2 separate regions of the Homo sapiens genome follow, and region 1 is linked to region 2. The links are contacts of gene promoters, found by promoter capture Hi-C in blood cells and fetal thymus (Javierre and others, 2016). All regions are on one chromosome and are shown on one strand. Each heading gives the region's core, a stretch centred on a gene start or on the middle of the fragment in contact. The rest is flanking DNA. Distances are from core to core; before and after follow the strand shown. Region 1 overlaps UTP25 (UTP25 small subunit processome component). Region 2 holds the start of CAMK1G (calcium/calmodulin dependent protein kinase IG).

What was found. The method cuts DNA at HindIII sites, captures the fragments that hold promoters and counts their contacts. A CHiCAGO score of 5 or more calls a contact.
Region 1: a contact is called between a fragment that was not itself captured here and the fragment with the promoter of CAMK1G in region 2, in 1 of 17 cell types (neutrophils). The highest score is 6.2, in neutrophils.

Annotation. Positions count from the first base shown.
Region 1 is chr1:209,842,494-209,845,501 of GRCh38, reverse strand. It overlaps UTP25 (UTP25 small subunit processome component), which reads right to left. Exons shown (of 12, transcript NM_014388.7): 10 at 2,807-2,919; 11 at 1,806-2,051. Among named protein-coding and RNA genes, the nearest start is that of UTP25, 16 kb to the right of the region's middle. The HindIII fragment of the contact is 1,380 bases long and covers 718-2,097 here.
Region 2 is chr1:209,582,109-209,585,002 of GRCh38, reverse strand. CAMK1G (calcium/calmodulin dependent protein kinase IG) reads right to left here and starts at 1,289. Exons shown (of 13, transcript NM_020439.3): 1 at 1,231-1,289. The region is part of intron 1 of LOC107985256 (a long non-coding RNA gene); the gene reads left to right. The HindIII fragment of the contact is 1,486 bases long and covers 177-1,662 here.

The DNA.
Region 1 (3,008 bases), core at 158-2,657, 260 kb before region 2:
TATTAAAGAGCTTAATTCCCATCCCAGCTTAATTCACAGTTGCCATAGACAATCACACTGGGAAGTTTTCCAATCCATCCACTTCACTTAAAGGGCTTGCTTTCATTTGTCAAGATGATAGAAAGCTAAGAGCTTTTAAGACCTGATGAGTGCAACTTCCCCAAATACTTTCCAACATGAATGGAAACGACAACTTACTGGAACAGAGCAAATAATGAGGGCAACAAGCAGGCATTCATTAACACTCTTTGGCCAAGCAGCCTTCTCTGGGTAGCCAAGAATGGAGCCTGGGAAACACAAATTTAATCAATCCTCAACTCTCTAAGAGGTCATGCCATGCCAGCTTTGCTATGCCTAGGCAAGCTGCTGGGACGCCTCCCTCCCCATCCTGGGAACAAGGACGTTATCTGGGGAGCACCATCCTAATCGTTTTAGCATAAACTAAAAGGTAATGCAATGCCAAAGTGCATCATCTAATGTGCTCCAAAGCTTGGGAGATTTCTGGCGTATCTGTTTAGGATTCTCTGAGAAAATGCACCCATTGTGAGTTAATAAAACAGTAAAGTCAGAACTTAAATCCACTGGACATTATTGTGAAATCAGGATGAGGTAACAGAATGTAATTTACATAACTCTACAGGCAAGGGTTAAAAAAAGCCTTTTACATATTATGCAACCATGAAAATTGAAAATAAAAATCTAAAAAATAAAAAAGCTTTTTCTATTTATCAACAGAGAGAGACTTAGCAAAACAATAAAATACATGAGCTCTAGGGCCAGAAGGGCCGCCACTATCCCAAACAGTAATAGAAGGCTCAGTATTACTAACCCTCTAATTAGAGTTGGTTTTTTTTTTTTTTTTTTTTTTTGAGATGGAGTTTCGCTCTTGTTGCCCAAGCTGGAGTGCAATGGCACGATCTCAGCTAACTGCAACCTCTGCCTCCCGGGTTCAAGCTATTCTCCTGCCTCAGCCTCCCGAGTAGCTGGGATTATAGGCACACACCACCACGCTCAACTAATTTTTTATATTTTTAGTAGAAACGGGGTTTCACCATGTTAGCCGGGATGGTCTTGAACTCCTGACCACAGGTGATTCGCCTGCCTTGGCCTCCCAAAGTGCTGGGATTACAGGTGTGAGCCACTGCACCTGGCCTGAGTTTTTAAAAAAATAACATGAAGACCAATCAACTTATTTTGTCAAAGTCACCTGGTAGGAAATCTAAGCAAACGCTGAAACCCTTCAACATTCAACTTGAAGCCCTTACCCTTTTACCTCCTGCAAATGTCAAGGAGCCCACGGTCCTAGTTCTCCTTGGTAGGGAGTATCTGTGCATACCTCAGGAACACCGCAACTGTCTGGAAACTGACACTGTACTCAGCCTCCATCTCCCCAGAAAACACAGTTCTCAATGCTTTTGTCTGTGCACTGAGGGCAAACAGAGGGAAAAAGTCTAGACAGGGACAACTCAAGTGAATACAGGGAAGGTCCCTCCCCTTCCTTGTATTCATTTGAGTTGTCCTGTAATGTCCTTCTTGCAGTGTATAACCACAGCTACATGCCAGGTCTATAGACAGGGTATGCTTTGGTTTCTACATCCTTCTTCAGCAATGCCCATTTTGGGAGAAAACCAACTAACCAACCAAGAAGAGTCTGTCCAAACCAAAAACTCTCTGGCTACTTTGTAAGAGTGCGAGAGTGAGGGATGATCTCAACACCACGAAGCCTGCCATGCATTCAGAGCAGGCCATGATTTGTCCTGCACCTCCCCTTCAGAGAGGAGGCTTGAAACCTGGCACCACTTTACCTTTTGTAGAAATGGAAGCGCTCTGTGAAAAGTAGAAACTGTTTCTCTCCTTGAAGGAAGAAGTGTCTGGCCCTGGAGACACCAGACTTCTGCGTGTACTCGCAGATGTGGGTAAAATTCAATTCCTCCTTCTTGAAGTAATTTCGAAGACGCACGAAGTCAAAGTAGGAGGGGATATAGATGAGCGTGTGAGACATGACTGCATCACGATACTGTGGCAAAATCTTGTTCACAAAAAAGTTAAACCTGATTTGGAATGGCAAAGGGCAAAATTAATGTCTAGAGCTAAGCTTATGGTGTCTCTTAACTGTGTGACCCTGAGCAAATTACAATCTCGTGTTAAAAGATTACCTCCCCAGAGGCCAATATGATTTACCTCCTCTCAAAGAGATTATGTAAGGATAAAACTTGATAAGCACACTAAAAAAATAAGTGTCAACACTATTCATTGTAAAAAACAGATGTAATACCATTATATCCCAGAGAATTACTCTAGGAAGTACACACCACACTATTCAGTCAGTCAGTCAGTCACTCAGTCACTCAGTCCAACAGTCAACAAATAATCACTGAACATCTACCATATACTAAGCCTCACTAAGCTTCTTTGGGGTCCCCTAACTAAACACAATGAAGAAAAAGGGGGAAATTATACAATTAGAAAAATAGTTCTTTCCCTGAGGGGCTTACAATTAACTTGCTGACATGAGACACTTTGTAGCATAAAGCTGTATAATTTTAAAATGCCACAGTCAAGAGTGAAAGAGTCCTGATTTATAGTAATAACCCTGCTACTAACTAGTTATGAGACCTAGGCCAAAGTCACTATTTCTCTCTGTGCTTCAGTTTCCTCCTCTGACAAATGACATAATTAAGTTCAATTATCTCAACTGATTTGGTAGTTATCAATAAAAGCAAAATGGAATCCAATTCTAGGTTTGTATGCCCAAGTCAAATCTCTCTATGTGGTCCCCAGGGGCCTGCTGGGAGGAGTGGGTTACCTGGCATCAATCACTGAAGCTAGGTTTTCAGCTTCCATCCTCTGGAAGACATGTGGGAGCTGCACCAGGACATGACTGATAGAGCCTGTCATTGGGACATTCCTCACGGCCACCTGCCAGTAGTCAACAAGAGCGTTAGGTGGACAGCCATCCCCTTCTTGACCAGAAGCTATCGCCTCCTTCTACCTCAGGACCCAAACAA
Region 2 (2,894 bases), core at 40-2,539:
ATCTATACTAAAGGGGAAATAATACATGCCACACCATCTGATGGGATCGTCCTAAAGATGATTAATTATAAACACATTATAAACTGTAAAGTGTGGTCCCCATATCAGGTATTACTAAGCACTCTGTGTTACGGCCTGTTTCAGAGGTGGGTCTCATCTTTGGTTCTGGTTAAGCTTGGGTCAGCAGGAATGACAGGGACCTTGTTCTGTCTTCAGCTTATGATCTGGAAAAGATCATCTTCTTACCTAAGGCGGAATCTGCTTGACTCTCTTGACCCTTCTCAGAGGCTTTCCTCATGATCAATTTATCTGACTCCAGAGCAAGAGGCTGGCCAGACAAGCACTGCAGCCAGACCAGCGTGAGCCCTGGCAGCCATCTCCGGGAGCCTCAGGGTTAATGTTTGTGCGTCAAAGTTACGTGGAGAGAAGGGGCCATGGTGTGGATGGGGGTGGTGGTGGTGGTGAATCCAGACCTCCTTTTAAGATCTTCACTTGAGAGGTAAACTAGGGAAGTTTAAAAACAGAAGGGAGGTAGACGCGCCCCTGGGGAAGGTGAAGGAAGCTGTCTTGTGACTGACAGCGATAGCTCGGCTGCGTTCTGCATCTTAACGCGGCTGAGGATAGGGAGCCTGAAGCCTGTCCACAGACTCCTCCAGGAGGGACTGAGGCTGACTCGTCTTCCTTAGGCTTGCAGAGCCACAGGCTGTTTACAAATCTTTTTGCCATTGGTTCTGCTAATCCTCCCAATAACCCAAAGAGGTCGGCAGAGAGGGCATACTTTATTTGATGGATGGGGTCAGAGAGGTTAAGAGATGAAGGTTGAGCAGGAGGGAGGGGTGCAAGAGAGTTGGAGGTCCTAACACCCCAGCAGATGGACGGGGTCCCTCTAGGCACAGAGCCTTGTCCCTAGAATGCAGGCATTGCAGGAGGGGCACATGAAGATATTTTTCTCCCTTTTCCCTGCCCAGAAGGGCAAAATGCTTCCATGAAAGCCAGCCCAGGAGTGACGGACAGATAGCTCCACCCGGACCCCCCATTCAGACTTATTTTCCAAGACAGCTATAACTCACCCTTGATGCCAAAAGAGTCAGGGAAGACTGGAACTGGGGCTGAAATAAATGCCCAAGTTGCTTACAAAGTGGCTCTTCAAATCCACTCACTAGGTGCTGCACGCTTCCCATTAAGCAAGGAGACCCTCTAAAGCCAAGAAAAGAAGCAGGGTTGTCTTACCCAGGGACTCGGGAAGAATCCTGCTTGAGCTCCCACTCCAGCTCCTACAGGTCTGTGAGGATTAGCTGCTCCAGTGCTTTAACAATAAACCCAATTAAAGGGGAGGAATGCAGGAGTTTTCTTTCCCAGGACCGTAACCACGCAGCCTTAAAGGGGAGTAAAAGTAGCTAGGGTGGCTTGCATCTCTCTTTCCTTTCCTCGGCTCTGCTCACCCTCCCTCCCAGCGTGCAGTAATGAGTCTTATCCAGAAAAATGCTTGTGCATTTTTGCCTGGTGTGTGTGTGTGTGAGTCTGTGTGCATGTGTATGTGAAATTGTGTTTGCATTGATGTGTGTGATGGAAAGACAGAACGGAAGAATGAAAAACAAAAACATCAAATTATAAGTTCCCATTATCCTGAATGGGTGATGACAGAAAAAAATCAGAGAAGCTTTCTAGGATTGTCTGCCTCAGTTTCCTTTTTAACCCCTCAGGTGCTGGTGTATGTTGTCTAAAAACACCTCCCTGAAAAACAGAACATCTACACTGGCTGACATGTAGGGACTGAAGACAGTGTCCACCTTGCTTGTTATCTCTTACAGAACTGGGAGAAAGGGCCTTGGATGTCCCAAAAGGGGCCCCTCAGTTGGACGGTCTCACTCAGTATCTTTGATATGTCTCTTTTCCTCCAGAAGCTCAGCATTCTGGTCCCCAAACCTGTCTCAGTCCTAACCTATGAGACCCCAGGAAATCATTCCCCTCCTCCGGAAACTCTGTGCTCCCTCTGTTTCCTGTACTCATCTCTCCAACCTGGCCCTTGACCAAGGCTTCACAGTCTCCATCTTAGCTTCTCTGGGGCAGTCCCTTTAGTGCAGATTTCTTTAAACTCTGTCATCTGCTCTCTTGTTTTCTCCTTCTCTACTCTCTCCTTAAGGTTACCATCTACTCACAGAGTCTATTACCATCTTCATAAGAATCTCCTCAGTCAACACCCCACCTGGGTTATCATGCTCAACCTCAACATCCAAATGCCCACTGTCACCTACAAACAAGGCTGAATGTGTTATGGCCACCCTCAAACCCACTCTCCTGTTTTCCCCAACTAGGCTAATGAGCTACCATCTTCCAAACACTCAACTGAGAAACTCCAGGGTTTGCTTTGTTTGTGTTGCCTGTTTAATTTGTCTTCCAAACCCATCCAGCTCTTATGCACTTCCATTTGTTCCTTGAAATTAGCTTTTAACTTGTACCATTTCTTTTGTGTCATCTTGTTTTTTGAATAAATAACATATTCATATTGGCAAGAAAATGACCATATTAAAAGGCATACATTGAGATGTGTTACCCCCTTCTACTCGTTATCTGTCCCTTGACCCTGACATTGCCCTCTATAGGTGACCACTTTTATTATGGTATTTCTTTATGCAAATACAAGCAAATATTCACCTCTATGATCTCAGTTCAGGCCTTCAACCTCCCACCCAGGTAGAACTGTGATAGGATAGGGTGAGATGGTGCAGTAGGATAGTTAAAAGTGGCTCTGGGGAAGACTTCTAGGTTGGATTCCTGGGTCTTCCATTGACAGATATGTGGCCTTGGGAAAGTGGCTTAACCTTTCTATGCCTCAGTTTTTCCATCTGTAAAATGGCATAATTATTAAACTTATTTCACACACTAGTAGGGTG